Regions from separate parts of the Homo sapiens genome. Here regions 1, 2, 4, 5 and 6 are each linked to region 3. Evidence: promoter capture Hi-C in 16 types of primary human blood cells and fetal thymus (Javierre and others, 2016). All regions are on one chromosome and are shown on one strand. The core of a region is centred on a gene start or on the middle of the fragment in contact, and the rest is flanking DNA. Distances in the headings are between cores, read along the strand shown.

Evidence for each region. Contacts are between HindIII fragments. The CHiCAGO score rates a contact against its expected background, and 5 or more counts as called.
Region 1: a fragment that was not itself captured here is called in contact with the fragment with the promoter of BTF3 in region 3 in 9 of 17 cell types (total B cells, total CD8 T cells, activated CD4 T cells and 6 more); the score reaches 9.7 in total B cells.
Region 2: a contact is called between the fragment with the promoter of FCHO2 here and the fragment with the promoter of BTF3 in region 3, in 12 of 17 cell types (total B cells, total CD8 T cells, erythroblasts and 9 more). The highest score is 12.3, in total B cells.
Region 4: a fragment that was not itself captured here is called in contact with the fragment with the promoter of BTF3 in region 3 in 5 of 17 cell types (activated CD4 T cells, total CD8 T cells, total CD4 T cells and 2 more); the score reaches 8.0 in activated CD4 T cells.
Region 5: a fragment that was not itself captured here is called in contact with the fragment with the promoter of BTF3 in region 3 in 2 of 17 cell types (activated CD4 T cells and naive CD4 T cells); the score reaches 7.9 in activated CD4 T cells.
Region 6: a fragment that was not itself captured here is called in contact with the fragment with the promoter of BTF3 in region 3 in 1 of 17 cell types (erythroblasts); the score reaches 5.8 in erythroblasts.

The regions. Positions count from the first base shown.
Region 1 is chr5:72,812,820-72,815,929 of GRCh38, reverse strand. All of the region lies in intron 1 of TNPO1-DT (TNPO1 divergent transcript), which reads left to right. Among named protein-coding and RNA genes, the nearest start is that of TNPO1-DT, 2.2 kb to the left of the region's middle. The HindIII fragment of the contact is 404 bases long and covers 1,483-1,886 here.
Region 2 is chr5:72,954,221-72,957,316 of GRCh38, reverse strand. FCHO2 (FCH and mu domain containing endocytic adaptor 2) reads right to left here and starts at 1,276. Exons shown (of 26, transcript NM_138782.3): 1 at 1,188-1,276. The coding sequence starts at 1,220. FCHO2-DT (FCHO2 divergent transcript) reads left to right here and starts at 1,433. Exons shown (of 2, transcript NR_186392.1): 1 at 1,433-2,303. RefSeq lists a silencer at 684-1,383. The HindIII fragment of the contact is 4,273 bases long and covers 1,185-3,096 here.
Region 3 is chr5:73,496,747-73,499,743 of GRCh38, reverse strand. It overlaps BTF3 (basic transcription factor 3), which reads right to left and starts at 1,302. Exons shown (of 6, transcript NM_001037637.2): 1 at 945-1,302; 2 at 542-610. The coding sequence starts at 1,076. It overlaps BTF3-DT (BTF3 divergent transcript), which reads left to right and starts at 1,424. Exons shown (of 1, transcript NR_186388.1): 1 at 1,424-2,191. RefSeq lists a silencer at 818-867 and enhancers at 504-1,314, 1,078-1,377, 1,408-1,467. The HindIII fragment of the contact is 2,385 bases long and covers 1-2,131 here.
Region 4 is chr5:72,892,688-72,895,852 of GRCh38, reverse strand. TNPO1 (transportin 1) reads right to left here. Exons shown (of 25, transcript NM_002270.4): 16 at 2,607-2,714; 17 at 2,318-2,476; 18 at 2,150-2,237. Among named protein-coding and RNA genes, the nearest start is that of MIR4804, 16 kb to the right of the region's middle. The HindIII fragment of the contact is 917 bases long and covers 1,000-1,916 here.
Region 5 is chr5:72,859,131-72,862,218 of GRCh38, reverse strand. It overlaps TNPO1 (transportin 1), which reads right to left. Exons shown (of 25, transcript NM_002270.4): 5 at 305-411. Among named protein-coding and RNA genes, the nearest start is that of MIR4804, 18 kb to the left of the region's middle. The HindIII fragment of the contact is 7,166 bases long and covers 1-3,088 here.
Region 6 is chr5:72,913,829-72,916,877 of GRCh38, reverse strand. It overlaps TNPO1 (transportin 1), which reads right to left. Exons shown (of 25, transcript NM_002270.4): 25 at 2,490-3,049. Among named protein-coding and RNA genes, the nearest start is that of MIR4804, 37 kb to the right of the region's middle. The HindIII fragment of the contact is 2,384 bases long and covers 439-2,822 here.

The sequences.
Region 1 (3,110 bases), core at 435-2,934, 680 kb after region 3:
TCTGTACGGCAAATGATTCAAAATGGGAGTGGTGGACGTTTTTATACCCAACTGCAACAAGGGTAATGAGATAAATATCAGTTTCCTTCCCTCAGATTATTCTTATATGTAAAATTTACTGTATAAAAATACTTAAAATTTGCATAGCTAGCTGATTTTTATTTTCTAAGGTGATGATGCCCGTGATAATATTCCTCACATGATCAGTGTGAGTAGAAATACCAGCAGTTCCGACTATCTTACTGGAAGTGCTGTATATATTTTGAAAATGTGTGACAGTTGTTGCCTTCCTGTCATAGTTTAGGTAAAATTACAGTACATAATACTAGAAAATGTCTAAATTTTTACTAAGGTAATTTATTTGTTCTTCTAAACGTGTTAACAATTTTCATTTGAATTACAGTCATTTTGCAGGAACAACTAGTTTATTTAACTTAAAATTTGAGACTAAAAGTACCATTTTTTAATCATTGGGAAATTGAACTTAGCAAGGGAAAATATAGATAACTAAAATATTCATGATTTCAACATGTTATAATATTAATTTGATAGTAATTGGATACAGTAGTGTATATCAAAAAGAGCCCCCCCCCCCAAATAGGAGTAGATTACCAAGAAAAAAATGTAATATAAACTTTTCTGAATGGTAGTTTATCTGCAGGAAAATATACCCAGAAAAAGTATATTTATCCAAATAACAAATGGCTTATTTCTGCATTTGAAAAGTTACATCGTGGACTAGGATCTATACAAATCAGAAGATGTGTAGTATTTGCATTCTACTTTGCTAAAGGAAAAAACACAAATATTTCTAAAATCCAAAAGATTAGCAAATAATGACAGATGTAAATACTACTGACTAAGCAATTAGTAGGAGTTCACTTGATTAATAGTTTGGAAATAGCTGAAATGAATTGAAGAAAAAGTAACATATTATTTAGCATAAGAGGATTTATTGGCCAAAACATTTTGAAAGAAAAAAATGTTGATTATCAGATGTTGTAAAATTGAGATTAAGCAAATTAAATATGTATTCTTTTGTAAAAATTAAAGTGAATGAAAATACTAATATAAAATAGTTCTGTTGAATAGAGATTCTTACACATGTAGCCTTTTTGTCTCTTCTAGGTCAAATTAAAAAAACATGTTTTAAACAGTAAATCTTATTAACAAGGATTTATTAACATGGCTTATTTTATTTTTCTTTGACAGTTTGCACATATAATAGCAGCTATCCAGTAGTATTTTCTCTTTATACCTAAATATGCTCATGTGGTAAAACTTTGAAGAATTATTAATAATTTTTAAATGACAAAAATGAAGTTAAAATTTATAAACTTTGTTTTTACCTTTAAAACATAGATATATTTAAAATTTCTGTATTAATTTTATTTTCTTAGGTGAAAAATTTACCAAGATAAAAATAAAAACATGTTAGAAGTTACAAAATAGCATCTGAGGGAGAAAACATACCTATAAGCTTTCACCTAGGAATGACAAGATGCTTATTTTGTCAGGTGTAGCATTGTTAAAACAAGTGTGGAGCTTGCAGGCAGAGGACCTATATGCAGATGCTGGCTTTACCATTTATGAATGCTTTTGGCTCAGTCTTTCTGAGCTTCACTTTCTTTTGTCTGAAACAAGATTAAGTAAGATAAGTTACATAAAGAACTCATTAGCAGAGTGCAGGGCAGGTTGTTAGAGGGCAATGAATGAAAGTATTACTAGACATTAATATAAATCAAAGATGTTTGAGAAGGAGGAATATTATTGAAAAAGTAAGTCTGGAAATTCAAAAATTGTTAAATAAATGTCTTTAATAGGCAATTGTTGGTGAGTATATGGAAACCTAGTAAGATAAGTAATTTTTTATATACAGGCAAGCTTCTAAAATAGAATAAGCCTGGGCGCAGTGGCTCACGCCTGTAATCCCAGCACTTTGGGAGGCCGAGATGGGCGGATTACCTGAGGTCAGGAGTTTGAGGCCAGCCTGGCCAACATGGTGAAACCTCGTCTCTACTAAAAATACAAAAATTAGCTGGGCATGGTGGCGGGCACCTGTAATTCTAGCTACTCAGCAGGCTGAGGCAGGAGAATTGCTTGAACCTGGGAGGCAGAGGTTGCGGTGAGCCAAGATCAGGCCATTCATTTGCACTCCAGCCTGGGTGACAGAGGAAGACTTCGTCTCAAAAATAAATGAAAAAATAAAAATAAACAAATAAAATAGAATAGGATCTTCTAAAATATTGTCACCATTTATACTTCTGGAAGACAATTATTTCACATTAGGTAGTTTAAAGAATTGCCTTACACTGAAACATCTTCAGGTTGACATTATGAAAAAAAGTTTCAGTAATTATTTGGAAGAATTTAATTAAAATATTGAAGAGGACAATTGTAGTCAATATTCAGAAATGTGTAAATAATCTACAGGCATTTCTCATTTAAAGTAAACCCAATATATAAAGTTTGAATTCTTAAAAATATAAATTAGGGAGTTATTAACTGGGAAAAATTAACTTCAAATCTCCTTTAAGTATTAATATGTCCTAGTGATTATAATATGATTCTGCTTATAAAAAGGTCTACTTAGATTTCCACTTTTGGGAAGTTGGAATAGATATGCTTGTCCCTATTCCTCCCACTAAGTATAATTAAAACTTCTGAACATTATGTATAAAACAAACATAAAGGTCTCCAAATGGTGGAAAGAAGACAGATCAACTAGAGACCTTGGAACCCAAGGAACAACATGATGGTTAATTGCCTGTGTTTTCTTTTTGCTTTAGAGTCTTTAGAGACTTGAAACTTTACACATCAGCAACCTAGAAACACCAATGGCACAGACTAAAAAGGCCCCATCAAAACACTGCTCCAGCTGAAGGGCCAGAAAAGGAGTATGGCAGACAGAAAACTTTTTGACAATAATTGCATACTCTAGGCAAAACTACAGACAGAATTGTGACCCCATCCTACTCATGTCAGCAAAGTCCTAGTGGATAGCCTAGATCCCCACCCTCACCAGACTATTAGGTAGTTTAAAGAATTGCCTTACACTGAAACATCTTCAGGTTAGCATTATGGAAAAATATTTAAATAATTATTTAGAG
Region 2 (3,096 bases), core at 27-2,526, 540 kb after region 3:
ATGGTGATGTTTACACAACTCTATGAACATATGAAAAAACCTCTGAATTGTACTACACTTTAAATGAGTGTATTGGTACGGAAATGTGAACTCAATAAAGCTGTTTAAAAAACAAAACACCTAAGGTCTAGTATATACGTTCTTTGTGGAAAACAAGGTACATTCAAGACAAATAAATAACTATGAACTGATCTGATTACTAACCAAGACCATGCTTGAGGCACTTAGAATTAAGAATTTAACATACATTCCTTACTAGCTAAAAGATTACCCCTTTAAATATGTCTAAATCTCAACGAAAATGGACCTGCAGTACTTGCAACTGTCAGGGCATAAAATGGGATTCACGAAAGATACCTGAGTAAACACGTTCCTTTCCTGTACATGGCTGAACTGTACTTCCCATTACAAAAAAAAAAACAATAACTGCAGAAAAATACTCCACCGGGAGCCGGAGAAATTCTCAAAGAAGAATCTAATACTGAGCTAAGACAAGGGGTGGAAAGAATGAGGAAGGGGAAGGAGCACAGAGTAGGGGGAGGTCTCCATGCATTTAAGCCCAAGGAGTCCAGTTACATTAAATCCAACTTTTAAACGCTTTGTGAACAGGCCCAGAGGCAAAGTCCTGGGCGCAAACCCACGAGCCGAGCTGCGAGGCTGAGAGGAAGTGCTAGTCCAGCCCAACCCCGCACTGGATTTGGTGTGGAAACCGTCAGAGGTAAAAGGGATCGCTCAGATGGGGGGCCCGCGGTGAGGGCAGGAGGCAAAACCCCACCGCCCGGCGCTCCCAGCCAGCGCGCAGCGGGAGGCGGCTGTGCCGCGGGCCCGTCCTTCGCGTCCGAGCTGCCGCGCACGCCCCGCGCGGAGCGCGGCACCGGGAGCCTCCGGTGGGGCTGGGTCCCGTCTCCCGCCCCATCCGGCGCTTTGTCCCAGCCCCGGTGGCCGGCGGCCCCGCTGCGGGCCCCCGGGCCGCGGTGACAGCCCCCGTCCCCATAGGGCTGCGAGCCCGGGAGTCCCTATAGGCTGGCGACCGGTCGCCCGCCGGACCTCACCCAGGCGGGACGCGGCAGGAGGACGCTCGCCCTGCCGGAGGGGCCGCCGCCGCCGCCCGAAGCGCACGCAGGCCAAGCTCAGGCGCCAAAAGCCTTGGACTTCGAAACACACGACTTCCAACATCCTAAGCTTACCCAAAAATTCTCGACGAAATACGCCATGACCATCGTGCCGCCGCCGCGCCGGGTTCCGCGTCCGCGCCCGCCCGCCGCTGTGTAAACACGGCCCGGCCCCCACAGCACCCCCGCCTTTCGCCGCCGCCGCCTTCTTCCCAGAGACCGGCCCGCACCTTCCAGGGCGCATGCGCCACCTAGCGGCTGCCGCAGCTGGGCGAGCACTTAGACGCCACGGCCACGGTGTGCGCATGCGCCCTGTCCCCATTCTCGGGTGTTGGTAGATCTCTCTGCATCCCGGGCGCGGCTGGGTTGAGTGTTCTCTTAGGAATGGTGGAGAACTGGGTCCTTGAGGAGTCACCGGGGAGACTGCTCGCACTGTTTGTGGTGCGACGGGCACTGGCCCAGGGACAGAGGGAAGAGAAGGGCCAGCCAGCGGCAGTGGAGTCGGCAGGCTGGCTGCCCACTCGCTTTCTCTCCTCACAAGACTCGCTTCCCCGGCCTTCGAGGATCTCGAACGGACTATAGTCTGGACTCGCTGGGCTGGAGGAAACTTGGCCGCTGGCCACCCGGAGGAGACTGAGAAGCCTTTGGTCAACAGGGCGCCTTTCCTTGAACCAAAACAAAACTTTCCGAAGCCGGAAAGGAAACGCCCAGTGTCGCCTGAGAGCCCTGGAGCTGCGCGAGACCCAGGCACTGAGTGCGGCCTCGGCCTCTGACCTCTAACACGCCGGGAACAAACCAGCTGGGGCGGCCCGCAGGCCTGCGGGAGCGGAATGTGACCCGAAACCGACGGACTTCCTGACCCATAGTCCATAGTTCTCTTCAGCAACTTGAACATTTTGGAAAAAGAAACAAGTCTTAACATGCCACGACCTAATGGAAAAACTAAATCCCCTTCCTACACCTTGCTTTCCAAAAGTTAAAAAAAAATAGTTAAACGCTATTAGAGGTCTCAAGTTCACTGTCACCAGATCAGCTAGGTCCAGAATCTTCAGTTCTTGAAGCCAAGCCCTACAAATAGATTTATTGTAGCATATCACACCTCTTCAGGTGACTTAAAACAATGAGAATTCATGAGAAATTATCTTCATCCTCAAGTAAAAATCATGAGGTGCCTTTCACATGGATGAAATTGTAAGTGCTTGTTGAACAAGGAATAATTGGATAATGGTATTGTGGTCATACTTTTTAAGAATATCTGTTAGAAAGATATAGGATGCAGAACATCTAGGATTTGCTGAAAGTCATTTATTATGGATAGGGGTATGAGTAAGGTCATAGATGAAAAGGGATGAAACAAGATTGGCCATAGTTGCTCTATTTTTGTGTATCTTGTTTCTTTATTTTGTTTCTTTAAAAAGTCCTCATATCACTGACATTTACACTTAGTTTTAGGGAAAGTCAAATTTAGAAATAAGCTACAGCTCTCTAAGCTATCGGTCTAACTGGATTTTTCTCGATGCTGAAGAACTTTTTAAAAAATTCAGCCATCTAGGTCACACAGCAAATACATTTGGCATTAAATTCCTAGTATCACTAAAGTACTCCCTCCCACCGCCGCGCCCCCCCCCTTCCCCCCGCACCCTTAGACCTGGGCAAGAGAGACTTCTATCCTGGACTCCATGCTTTAAAGGAACTTACATATCACACACACACATTAATTTAAAAAAAAATAGGTGCCCCTGCCGCTTGTGATCTGATACTGAACACTGGCTCATAACCATAAATTCCCTCTCCCAGTGAAGAACACTATTCAGGCCCCAGGAAAACTCTTCTTCCTATCTTTTGTCTTCTGTCCTCAAAACAAACGGTGAACTCCAAAAGCAGTGAAAATTTGTACATAGCATGGCTGCCCATTTCAGAGACTGCTTTGGAGTCAGAATTTGAGCAGCAGAAATGCTTAGGTAAGAGAGAAGACAAATTAACT
Region 3 (2,997 bases), core at 53-2,552:
GTAATACAAAGTCAGAACAGGAAAGATACCTACTTGGGTTATATTTTCAAATCTAATAGTCACTGCTCTTAAACTCCAAAATGTACCCGTATCTTCAAATACCCTTGAAATATGCAACTACCCTAAAGAATATTTAGTTCAGAAAGCAGTACAGAAAGGTCTCAATTTACAAGAGAGACAAACAAGCACTGACTTTAGAAAACTCAGGCCAAAACAAGTCAAGGGTATGATGTGCACAACGATCTAACTGAAATGACACATTTTCCTTACTAATTAAATTAGGAAACACTTTTGTGTTCTACTTACACTCTGTAACACTGAAAACACAAACATGTTTACACAAAGGCGATGTTTTTAGCTCGTCTCACTGATGTGTCTCCAACCCTCGTCTCCCCCGCTCCTCGAGATTTGCTAGCTCCGTGAATTTCCCTCGATAGGCAAAGTTTGTCACCGATAATATAAGAAGCGCAAAAGGAATATGTTTTTTAAAATACCTAAACCTTAAAAAAAAAACCCACAAACCCGAACTATTAAAACTTACTTTCCCACCAATGCGCACTTGTGCCTGCAGTTTGGCGAGTTTTTCCTGGTTCATGATTGTTTCTTTCATCTAGAAAAAGAGGAAATCCTCAGCAAGGATAGGTTTAGCTCACTCTAGCATTCCATGCTCGTTATTTCCCAAGATACCAGCAGGAAAATAAACGTCCTACACAGGCCGAAACCTGGATCCCAAATCCACCCCGCAAAGCTCCAAATTTGGGTTTCCAGGGAGCCCAAAGAGCACCCGCCTCCCCACCACTCCCCCACAGCTCCCCGCTCTTGGCAGGCCCGGATGAAAGGCTCTACCCCACGCCTGGCCAGCACCCCCCACCCCTGGCCCTGGCCTGGCCTCGGCCTAGCCAGGGCCTGCCCGGCCCGGCCACTCTCCGCAAGCCTCGCGGTACCTGAGGCTCCTGTCCTCGGGTTCCGCCGCGAGGTGGAGGTTGAGACAGCGTCGCCTCGCCCCCAGGGCAGCCGCCCCTGGCTCGACCTCGCCCCCGAGAGTCAGCCTGAGCGGGTGCGCCTGTCCGTCGCATCGCCTTCCTCTCCTCCTCTGCCCTGTCCCTCCCTGTCTCGCTCCTTCAGGGAACTTCCCGCCCCCGCTCCCGTCCTCCTACCACGCCGCCGTCCAGAGCCTTTTTGTACCTTGTCGGAGCGAATAAGGGGCCGCGCGGGGGACTAGGGTTGGTGCTCAAGGGGTCTCGGGTGGACCACCTGAGATTAGGCGCACACACGCGGGGACGCAAGATGGCAGCTAAAGGGAGGCCGGAAGTGACACAAGGCCACTTCCTTCAAGAGTCAGGAAACTGACTTCGCCGCGAACTCGGTTCCTCCCTGCGCACGCGCGACAGCGTTTGTGATGGTCCAGCGAGTCCCTATTCTCCTCCTCCTGCTCCAGCGGCTGCCGGCTGTAGGCCCTACGAGAGACTGCTGGCTTGGGGCGCAGCCCGTACCTCTGGGAGAGGCCACAAAGGGGTCGGAGAGCGCGGTCCTGTGCACAGTTAGGGTTAAGTCCGCTCAGTCTCCATTGGGCCCTGATCCTGAAGTTCTGTGCCCTCCGAAGAAAGGGCCTATTCACGTTTCCTGGAGACGCCGGAGGTGCCCAGCTTGTGCTCACCACTCAAGCAGCTCTCCCCTTGCTGGAGGTGTGGGTTGGAGAATTGCAGAATTTCCCTCTCGGCCCGAATGAGCCATTACCAAAGCATTTTGTCAAAAATAGTGAAGTTAGTTTGGCCTTCCAAGGTTAGGTGGTGTGGTAGATTGCGGGACCGAGGTTCAGAATTTCTGGGGGCTGTATCCCCGAGCCCCACTCCTCAGAATGCAACTCTGTACGACGAAGGAACTGGGTAATCCGCATTTCAGCCAATTTAGCAGATGACTAACCACCTTAAAACGGTCCACACAATTATCTTGTTTATCAGGCAAAAAAATTGACTCCTAGGTACCGAATTGGCATGGATTTGACAATTAGCGATTCACGGTTAAGCAGACTTTATCTATCTTAATCCAATCAAAGGAGAATTTCTGCCTGCTGTGTTTGGAGAGACAACGCGTGGATGTGAGTTAAACTTTGTTAAACCCAGGACAAGCTTTAAGATAAAACGACTGATATTTAAAATGGCAATTTAAATAAAAATGTTCTCTGATCAGCCTTTTTGTGGTCTTAACCATGAAATGTCTTTGCATATTCAAAAGTGAGTCCGAAATCTTAGAATGCAATGTGTGTAGCAAGAAAACTTGTTCAAGTGCAGACCCCTCTCCAGTTAAGATCAATGTTTAAACTTTTTGAATACTTTTTACATATAAGTTTGTTGCAACTGATGTCTCAAGAACATAACTGGTGAGGACAGCTGTATTGCCTTTTAGAATAATTGTTACAGTTATATTTACAAAAAACAATGTTGCTTCAGTTAAATATGAGTGAAGTTTTAGTACAGGTAAGGGTGTTTGTAGTTAGGCTTATGTGGGTTACCTTCCTAATGACAAAGGCCAAAATGGCAGTACCAACATTATGCTGTGCTCTGGAGATATTACAAAATATATAGAAAGACTCCCCCTTTTGGAAGAAATGTGTATCTTTGTCCAGGAACAGTTTTTTTCCTCTCCTCCATGTTATATTGGAGGCATTTGAAACTTCCTAGTCACGTGATGTTTTCTGAGCTTTTATAGAGACAAGATTGTATGTATGTAACCTGCCACCTTTTTTTTCTTTTTCTTTGCCTTCCCTCTCCTCTGCCCTTTTAATACACCTGTTTTCAGGAAATATTGTGAGCTACTTTTATTTATTTATTTATTTCTACTTTTTGAAACCAGGGATGCTGCTAATTTTATTTTTATAATTTTTTTAAAAAATATAAAACTTTAAAAAAATTAAAAGAGATGGGGTCTCACTTTGTTGCTTAGGCTGGGCTCAAACTCCTGCGCTCAAAGGATCCTTCAGTCTCAGCCACTTGAGAA
Region 4 (3,165 bases), core at 209-2,708, 600 kb after region 3:
CAAAACTCTGAAACATCAAAGATACCTTTGGAGGATGATAGGAATCAATTCATTATTTTGAAAATTGGTAAATAAAAAAAAGAATCAAGTATTTATCTTGCCTCTGCTATATGATTTTACCTCAGGATAGTAATTTATTGATATGGGAAATGTCTCCCTATATAAGTATCTTCATTATTAAATGAAGAATTAGAATATCATAATTTTTTAAACTCCTAATAAATCAGGAGATGTAAGCCAGGGTTTCTTGATCTCAGCAATATTGACAGTTTGGGCCAGATCATTTTTTTGTTGGGGGGAAGGGGAGCTGTCTCCTGTATTATAAGATGTTTAGCAACATCCTTTGCTTCTACCCACTAGACATCAATGGCACCTCTCCAGCATCAAACAAAATGTCTCCAGACACTGGCAAATGTTCCCCGAATGGCAAAATTGCCCCTAGTTGAGAACCACTAATTGAGACAATCATCAAGATTGGTAACATTAAAAAAAAAAAAAGGAGGGACAACTAGACACTATGTACACTAAGTACACAATACCATCTATAAAGTCTTAAAAACAAAACAACGTAAATCTCATTAAACCTCAGTCTCTGTATCCAAACAATTTACAGTAAATACAACGGACAGAGGAACATGTTAAAGACAACAAAGATGCAATCAGTAAAATCCACAGTAAAGGAAACTCTTTAGAATAAAAAACATGGTTTCTTTAACAAAAAACAATTGTAAGAAGAGATAGTATAGTATGTACTAAAATATTAAGACTTCAAATGCTGTGTTTGAGATTTGCTCCAAAATATCTGAGATCTATGTGTCTCACCACTGACAACAGTATATAGGAAACAGGACTGGACAGTTGAAGCTGGGTGATAGGAGGTTTGTTACATTTTTTCTACTTTTGTACGTCTTAAACACTTTATAATAAAAAAATTAAATCCTTTCATATAAGTTTCAACTAAAAAACTAAATTAGGTGGTAAATATGAGAATGATAAGCTTCCCATAAGAATTCATTACACTGTTAGGTTTAAACTTGATGGTTCTTAATATATCATAATTAATGTTAATTATGTTAGTTTTTTGAGAAATGGTTATCCAAAAGCACAATTATATCAGATGACAAAACATTCAATTAATATTTTAAATTAAGGTTTAAATGAAGTATTAAAATAATTTTTTTTGAGACGGAGTCTTGCTCTGTTGCCCAGGCTGGAGTGTAGTGGTACAGTATCAGCTCACTGCAGACTCTGCCTCCCGGGTTCAAGCGATTTTCCTGCCTCAGTTTCCCAAGTAGCTAGAACTACAGGCACAAGCCACCACGCCTGGCTAAGTTTTTGTATTTTTAGTAGAAGCGGGGTTTCACCGTGTTAGCCAGGATGGTCTTGATCTCCTGACTTCGTGACCTGCCCGCCTTGGCCTTCCAAAGTGCTGGCATTACAGGTCTGAGCCGCCGTGCCCGGCTGTATTAAAATAATTGTTACCCAACATGCTGAGATGCAGAAAAGGGGGAAAAAAATCCCATAACTCATTTATAACCCATAGGTTTAAGAACAATTCCGGGTACAACATTCAAGGAATTTCTTATCATTGTCACAGAAGGCCAAGACAAATGCTATGCTAGTCTCGAATCTCGCACTCCTGACCTCAAGTGATCTGCCTGCCTTGGCTTCCCAAAGTGCTGGCATTACAGGTGTGAGCCCCCAGGCCCAGTCTCAGTTAAAGTGACATTTGTTGGAAGTTTTCTGCAATATCTGAAAAAGTATGCTGGTTTGCTAGAGAAGAAAACCTGATTATTACTATTTCTGTGTACCTCTACCAAAAAGGTGGCTACTCAAAAAAGAATCTATTAACTAGTCCATGGTACCAAGGCTTCCCTGGTGGGCATGTCCTTTACTCTAAAGTATATTACTAAGCTTTCCTCCAGTCACAGGAGTACCTAAAAAGCTGAGATGATGGCAAGCTCAAGGAAATATTAGGGGTTCCTGCCATCTTGCCTGTTTCAATCACAGCAAGTTTACTTTAACCAATAAAGTGTACATTTATAAATGTTGGGATTCCATGCAATTTCAGTTTAATAATAAAAAAACAAAGCTGATGTAAATGTTAACTTTAAAAAACCATATTCATAGCAGTAGAAAATATTCATACCTATACAAGGCTTAACATGCTGAAAGCAAGCTTTTGTGAGGTCACCTAACAGGGCAAAAGAACTCTGTCGAACTTCTGGCATTTTATCCTACAAGAAATAAGAAGAAATTAACCCCAATGTGACACAGAGAAACAGGCTTCAATTCATTTTCACCTTTCAAGTCTCACCTGCATGCACTGATACATTAGTGTCAGGATGTTACTTCGGGCTACCAGCTGTTCAATGTTGCCTCCAAGTCCTTCAGCCAGGCCACTCAGTAAATCAAGAGCCACTATCATAAAATCTTTATCTGGAGCTTCATATTGATCTGGTTGAGCATTGTTTAGCTGAAATTAGACACAATGTTTTTTGTAAGTTTGGTTTTAATTAACTACTTAAAAAGTCTGTATACATTATACCTATCTTTAGAAAAATGTCCACCATGTCAAGAAGAGGAAGACATTTTAAAAAAATTACCATGGCTTGTGCAAGAGTCTTCTGTACTAGGTTTACACAACGCTGATACACAGGTTCACAGTACGGAAGGAATCCAGACTGCAGTGCTGTGGCAACTGAAGATAGGCACTAGGAAGAATAAAGTACACATGCTAAACTTTCTGGGTATACTGAAGATTATGATGAATGCTTGAAACTGCGCTCAACAGGATCCTGATCATTTATGAGCTTGCTCTACTAGTTTCTACAGTAGCAGGTTCCCCTCCCCCCACCCCAACCCTCTCTTTTGGAAGCCATTCATTGTTGTTAGTTTGCCAGCCAATCAGGTCAGGTTTACTCAGAGGAAGCGTTTCTACAAGAAACATTATCTTTAAAGGACAGATTGAGTATTATGTGTTCATATTTTTCCCTCAAATTGAAGAGATTCATTTCATGCTCCCATCCTGGTCAATGTTGTGAATGGACTTTACTGGGCACATTCTGAGATCCTGCCGGAAAGTAATATATATACAGTTGGCCCTCTGTATCTATGGATTCAACCAATCTTGAATCAAAAGTATTTAGAAAAACAATTAAAATG
Region 5 (3,088 bases), core at 423-2,922, 640 kb after region 3:
ATCTTTAACTGATTAGGCTTGACAAAAACTGTATATTACATACATATACATCCAAGAATAATTTTAGAACAGAAAAGCAAGATACGTCCTTGTGTGAAATACAGTAAAAGAGGTTTATAATGTAACAGTTTTTATAGAAAAATAAATGATTTACAAATGTAATATAACACAAAGGTAACTTTAGGTTTCTAAGTTTTGAGAAGCTGTATGTTTCAGAGGAACTATTTTTCCCAAAAGCTGCTAATACACAACATGACAAGAAAAACAGAAAACACCCAATTATGTATGAAACAAATATCCTTACCTCACAGGTATTATAATCTTCAGAATCCAACAGGCTACAGAGTTTTGGTAAGAGGTCAGGCCAATTCTGCAATTCTCCCTTGGAGGCTATAGTTGTGATCAAAATACCTTGAACAAAAACACACTTCTTTAGGAAATCCAACAGCATTATGTCAGGCATTGCCATGTGAGCAACTGTGTGCACAAACACATTTTATGTAAATAATAACATTTGGCCAGGCATGGTGGCTCATGCTGTAATCCCAGCATTCTGGGAGGCCGAGGCGGGCAGATCTCTTGAGCCCAGGAATTCCAGACCAGCCTGGGCAACATGATGAAACCCTCTCACTACTAAAAATACAAGAAAATCAGCTGGGCGTGATGGTATGCGCCTGTGATCCCAGCTATTCAGGAGGCTGAAGTGAGAGGATCACCTGAGTCAAGGAGGTCGAGGCTGCAGTGAGCCATGACTATGAGACCACACTCATGCCTGGGCAGAGTGAGACCCTGTCTCAAAAAATTAGTAACACTCACCACCAACACCCATATCACCATTCCGTACCTTGTGGAAAAAAAACCTCACATAAACCAGATCTGTTTCTAATAGTGTTTTTCAACATTTCACCCTCTAAGGTTTTTTGAGTTAAATTTACCAAGTATAAGAATGCAACTTCTTTTTCTGCCATAATACCAAGAATAGCTCCACCAATTAAAATTAATTCTAATGGCTGGGCACGGTGGCTCACACCTGTAATCCCAGCACTTTGGGAGGCCGAGGTGGGTGGATCACATGAGGTTGGGAGTTCAAGACCAGCCTGACCAACATGGAGAAACCCCATCTCTACTAAAAATACATAACTAGCCGGGCATGTGGTGCATGCCTGTAATCTCAGCTACTCAGGAGGCTGAGGCAGGAGAATCGCTTGAACCCGGGAGGCGGAGGTTGCAGTGAGCCGAGATCACGCCACTGCACTCCAGTCTGGGCAACAAGAACGAAATTCTGTCTCAAAAAAAAAAAAAAATTCTAATTTATCCATACAAAAGAGTAGAAAGAAAATATGCCAAAACGTTAGCAGCACTTAACACTGGGTGATAAACTTATGAGTCTGTTAGGTTCAAATAAAAGACACATTAAGAAGCTAAAAATAGCTCCCTGACTTAATCTGGAACCAGAGCCAAGGACCATGGTAGGAAAAACTTAAGCAGATGAGTATCACTTGAGAATAATCCTGTATGTTTCACTGCTTACAACACTCTCCCTCATGTAGGCAGGCTACATACTCCTACAACAGTTCCCACTTACTGGATCAAGAATGAGTCGCCAGAAAGGCGATCTTCGAGGCTGGGTGGCCCATGCTCACTGATCATGTTGTTCTGACTGAATGGATTATCTCAACTGTGTTATGCAGTAGAGTTGTGATAGTCAATGAATTATGCAAATACACACAAATGTAAGGAAAGTTTTGTGTTAACACAAACACAAGGACAACAGAAAGGTTTCGTGTTAATATTTTTTTCTGCCTTAGTAAACATATTAGTGATATAATATGCTTAGTGATTATGGATCTTTTAGTGCCAGAAGAGTATAAGCTCTGACAATAGGCAAATTATATGCATTCTAAGCTGCAAAATATGAGTGTACAAAAATGAAAAAAGAAAACTCTTCATAGGGTTATTTTGAAAATTCAATTGGATATATAGAAAATGCCTGGCATCTAGTAAACACTCAATGACTATCACTGAACAGCAAATATCACCATGTGTATAAATTTTCTACCTTTAGTTCTGAGAAGGTTGCTCTCAATGATAAAGAACTAAAAAAGAATCTAGAAAGTAAAGCTCCCGGCAAATTTATTCTCCACACACAAAAAAATTAAATTGTATAGTAAGAATTAATGTACTGATAGCATTTTCAAGATATAGCCCTTACAATAAAATAGCCTTCCATTAAGATCCAAAAGCAGCAAGATCTGATCGTTCCTGCAAATTAGTCTTTCCTAAAGTTAAAATATAAAAGAAATAAGGGAATGAGCAAGATCTGGATCTGTCTAAAAGAAACCAAGCATAACTTAATATTTCTCAGTATTTATAACAAATACGGGAATGAAATCAGTGTGCTTGGCAACACCTATTAAAATCTTAAAAATGTTTAAACACACTTTGACCCAATAATGCCAAATACACAAATTAATCCTATAGAAATCTTCCTGTAATTGTACAAACATACACAAGAGAATATTCATTGAAATAATAAAATTACAAACAAACTGTATACTCTCTAAACAAGAGAAACATCTTTACTTCATCTGATGAATTACCCCACAGTCATTCAGATGTGGTCCCTTCCAAATAGACTTCCTTGATAAGATTCCCAACATGTATTGTTAAGGTTAATAAAAATTTTAAAAGCCAAAGCTGCTAGTCTATTTTTATAATCAGTAATCTTTTAATTAAAATATTTAAATATTGTATATATTATTAGTAGATGCTAAGAAATACAAAAATAACACATGGTCCTTTCCCTCAAGGAGCTCAGTCAGGCACTCCCTGACCCCAACACGTGGCATGGTCTAGAGACATTTTTGGTTGCTACAGCAGGGTATGTGGCTGCTGCTGGTATCCAGTGGGTAGAGGTCAGGTGTGCTGATTAACATCCTGTAGTGCACAGACAAAATAGCCCAACAACAAAGAATTATCCAGTCCAAAATGTCAAGTGCTGAGGTTGGAAAACTCTGGTCTAGAGGAACAGAGTCCTACATCAACTGATAATGTAGAGTCAGAGTACTTGCACTACTATACATATACC
Region 6 (3,049 bases), core at 381-2,880, 580 kb after region 3:
GCACACATGACAGAATCCACTGGAGTTGGTGCTGGATATGAAAATGAGTACAATTTAACTGAAAGGTAATCTGACTAGACCAACTACCTTTGACCTGCTAGTTTCACTAAGAAATCGCTACAGATGTTTGCAAACATTTAAGCATTGCGACTCTCACTAAAACTTTATTTCTAAGAGTGAAAAATTAGAAAAAACTTCTGAATGTCCAACAACAGTAAGACAGTTGCATAAATTGCTTATAGAATAATATGTAGGTATGTCCATGTATATTAACAAACAATTCTGGATATAACTAAAAACACAAATTCACCATATATTTATATATGTGCACAGGATATTAACAGCAGTTATCACTAGGTAGTTGTATTACAATTCATTTAACTGTTCACTTGTCTTTCTTAAAATTGTTTCAAGTTCTTCAAGAAGTAACACAAAGCTTGAAAAGAATACTTAAGATTTAAATCATCAGAGTGAGACTGCCATAACATGCATGTAAGAATTGACTGGTACAAAAACCTAAAGGGTCTCAGTATAACAACTCTTCTCTGTATTGTTCTTGCCAATGGTTTAGAAATTGCGTTAAATTTACAAATTGTCGCCAGGGGCGGTGGCTCACAACTGTAATCCCAGCAATTTGGGAGGCAAAGGTGGGCGTACCACTCGAGGTGTTCACTCGAGGTCAGGAGTTCGAGACCAGCCTGGCCAACACGGCCAAACTCTCTCCTAAAAAAAAAAAAAAAAAAAAAAAAAAAAAAAAATTAGCCAGGCCTGGTGGCGTGCGCCTGTAATCCCAGCTACTTGGGAGGCTGAGATGGGAGAATTGCTTGAACCTAGGAGGCGGAAGTTGCAGGGAGCAGATATCGTGCCACTGAAGACTGGGAGACAGAGCCAGAGTCCTCTCAATTAAAAAAAATATATACTAATTGTGATGTGTACATTATTTGTGTCTATCTGAATAATGGAGATGTTTCGGGGGTTCTTACACTTTTACATCAAATTAACAACTCAGAAATAAAGAATTTTTAAAATGACAGAGCTTTGGTAATTCCATATTCAACTGTATAGAACACAAAGGAAATTCAAGTTAGCTCTGTAGTTCCTGCTGCCACTTTTCCAATCATTCTTAAAGAATCACGTGAAATTGTGGAGTCATACTGATTATGAACTCATTACAAGAATGCCCGCCAGTCCAAGAATTGTTAAGCCAGCCTTACTCATTTATCATTACGATGGTTTCATCACCTGAACTGAGAAGAAAAAGATCATTTGCATAAAATGGATAGGGCTTTAGTATCACTAAAATATTGACGACTTAGAAAAGACTTTTGGTTCCTAATCTTGAACAAGAATTAGGATGACTTTAATTATCTTTTCCCCACAACCTAAGTCCTAAAATTCTGGAATATTAAACTCTTGAGGCTGTGTTTTAGAACATGATGTCCAAGTTTCAATTTTATTTTCTTGTTAACACAAGAGAACTCTCTCTTCTCAAATATTTTCTTGGCCAGGTAACAAAGAAAAAGAAACCCAAGCCTCACCTCTCTTAAAAGTTTTGGAATTGTACTGATTTAATTTTAGGCTCTTTCCTGTTCTAAATCTCAAAAGGCTGTATGACAAGGCCAGGCATGGTGGCTCACAGCTGTAATCCCAACACTTTGAGAGGCCGAGACAGGTGGATCACCTGAGGCCAGGAGTTCGAGACTAGCCTGGCCAACATGGTGAACCCCCATCTTTACTGAAAATATAAAAGTTAGCCGGGTGTGACGGCACATGCCTTAATCCCAACTACTTGGGAAGCTGAGGCAGGAGAGTCGTTTGAACCCGGGAGGCAGAGGTTGCAGTGAGACAAGACTGTGCCACTGCACTCCAGCCTGGGCAACAGAGCAAGACTCCATCTCAAAAACAAGACAAAAAACAAAAAAAACCATGACAGTTATGCACACATACTCCCTGAAATGTGTTAATACATTTAATTAGTAACATGCAACTATATTAATGCCTTACAACCTGAAGAAAAAATTACTCTTATAAATGTTAATTCCCCAAATTACAAATCTTAACTGTTTGAAGGATAAAGAGGAAGCCTTAATAGGACATACATTCATACACACTCATGCAATCTCTCCTTACATCAACTTTTTATATTCACAATTTCGCCTTTAATTCCTTTTACAGAATAGTATGTCCCCTATCCTCAAACAGCAGAACCTATAATCAACTGTTTAAAACACATCAAGGAGTTAAGTTAAAATGTGGAAAAACAGGTTTTTACTATACTATACAAATAAGAAAACACTTGTTTTAAGAAATAAATGATGTTCAACAACAAAAGTGTACTAATGTGTAAGCTAAGGAAAAAACAAAACAAAACCTCAAACTAAAAACAAGGAAAAAAATCCCAAAAAACATAAGGCTTATCTAGATCCAAAATGGGGTAAGAGGGAAAAAGAAAACTCATTTCCTTTCATTAAAAATCAGAGTGCAACATCTATAGTTAAACAACTTTATTAACATAGTCAAGCAGTGATTAACATTCACATCTATTATGTCACATCATACAAATGTAAATACAAAATTACTACAGTACAATATATATTCTCTGCATGATCCAAAATATTTGGTGGCCCCAAAAAACTCTCTTTAAAATTCAGCAGCTTATCAAAAATTAAAACCGTATTCTATTTAAAATGGAGATCTGTTAGCACAGAGTTAGACTTCAAGAAATATCAATTTAGTACAGTTTGAGAAGTTGCAGGAGGATATGTTTGAAGGACACATTCTAACATAGTGTGGCAGGTACAGGAAACATCAGATTTAAAGCTTTTAAGCATAACTCATACAACCTAAGTTGTCAGCAGAAAGATCCAGTTATATTTGTAACTAAAGCTAATGCTACTAAATTATTGCACCCAATGTTAACATATTAAGTGTAAAACTGTTTTGTAATATGAAGTGATTTACCACGTTTAAACATCTCTTCTCACAAGATGATAATCTATTAAGTAAAACTAATTATACAGTATTGTCTAATTATTGTCTCCATAAAAAT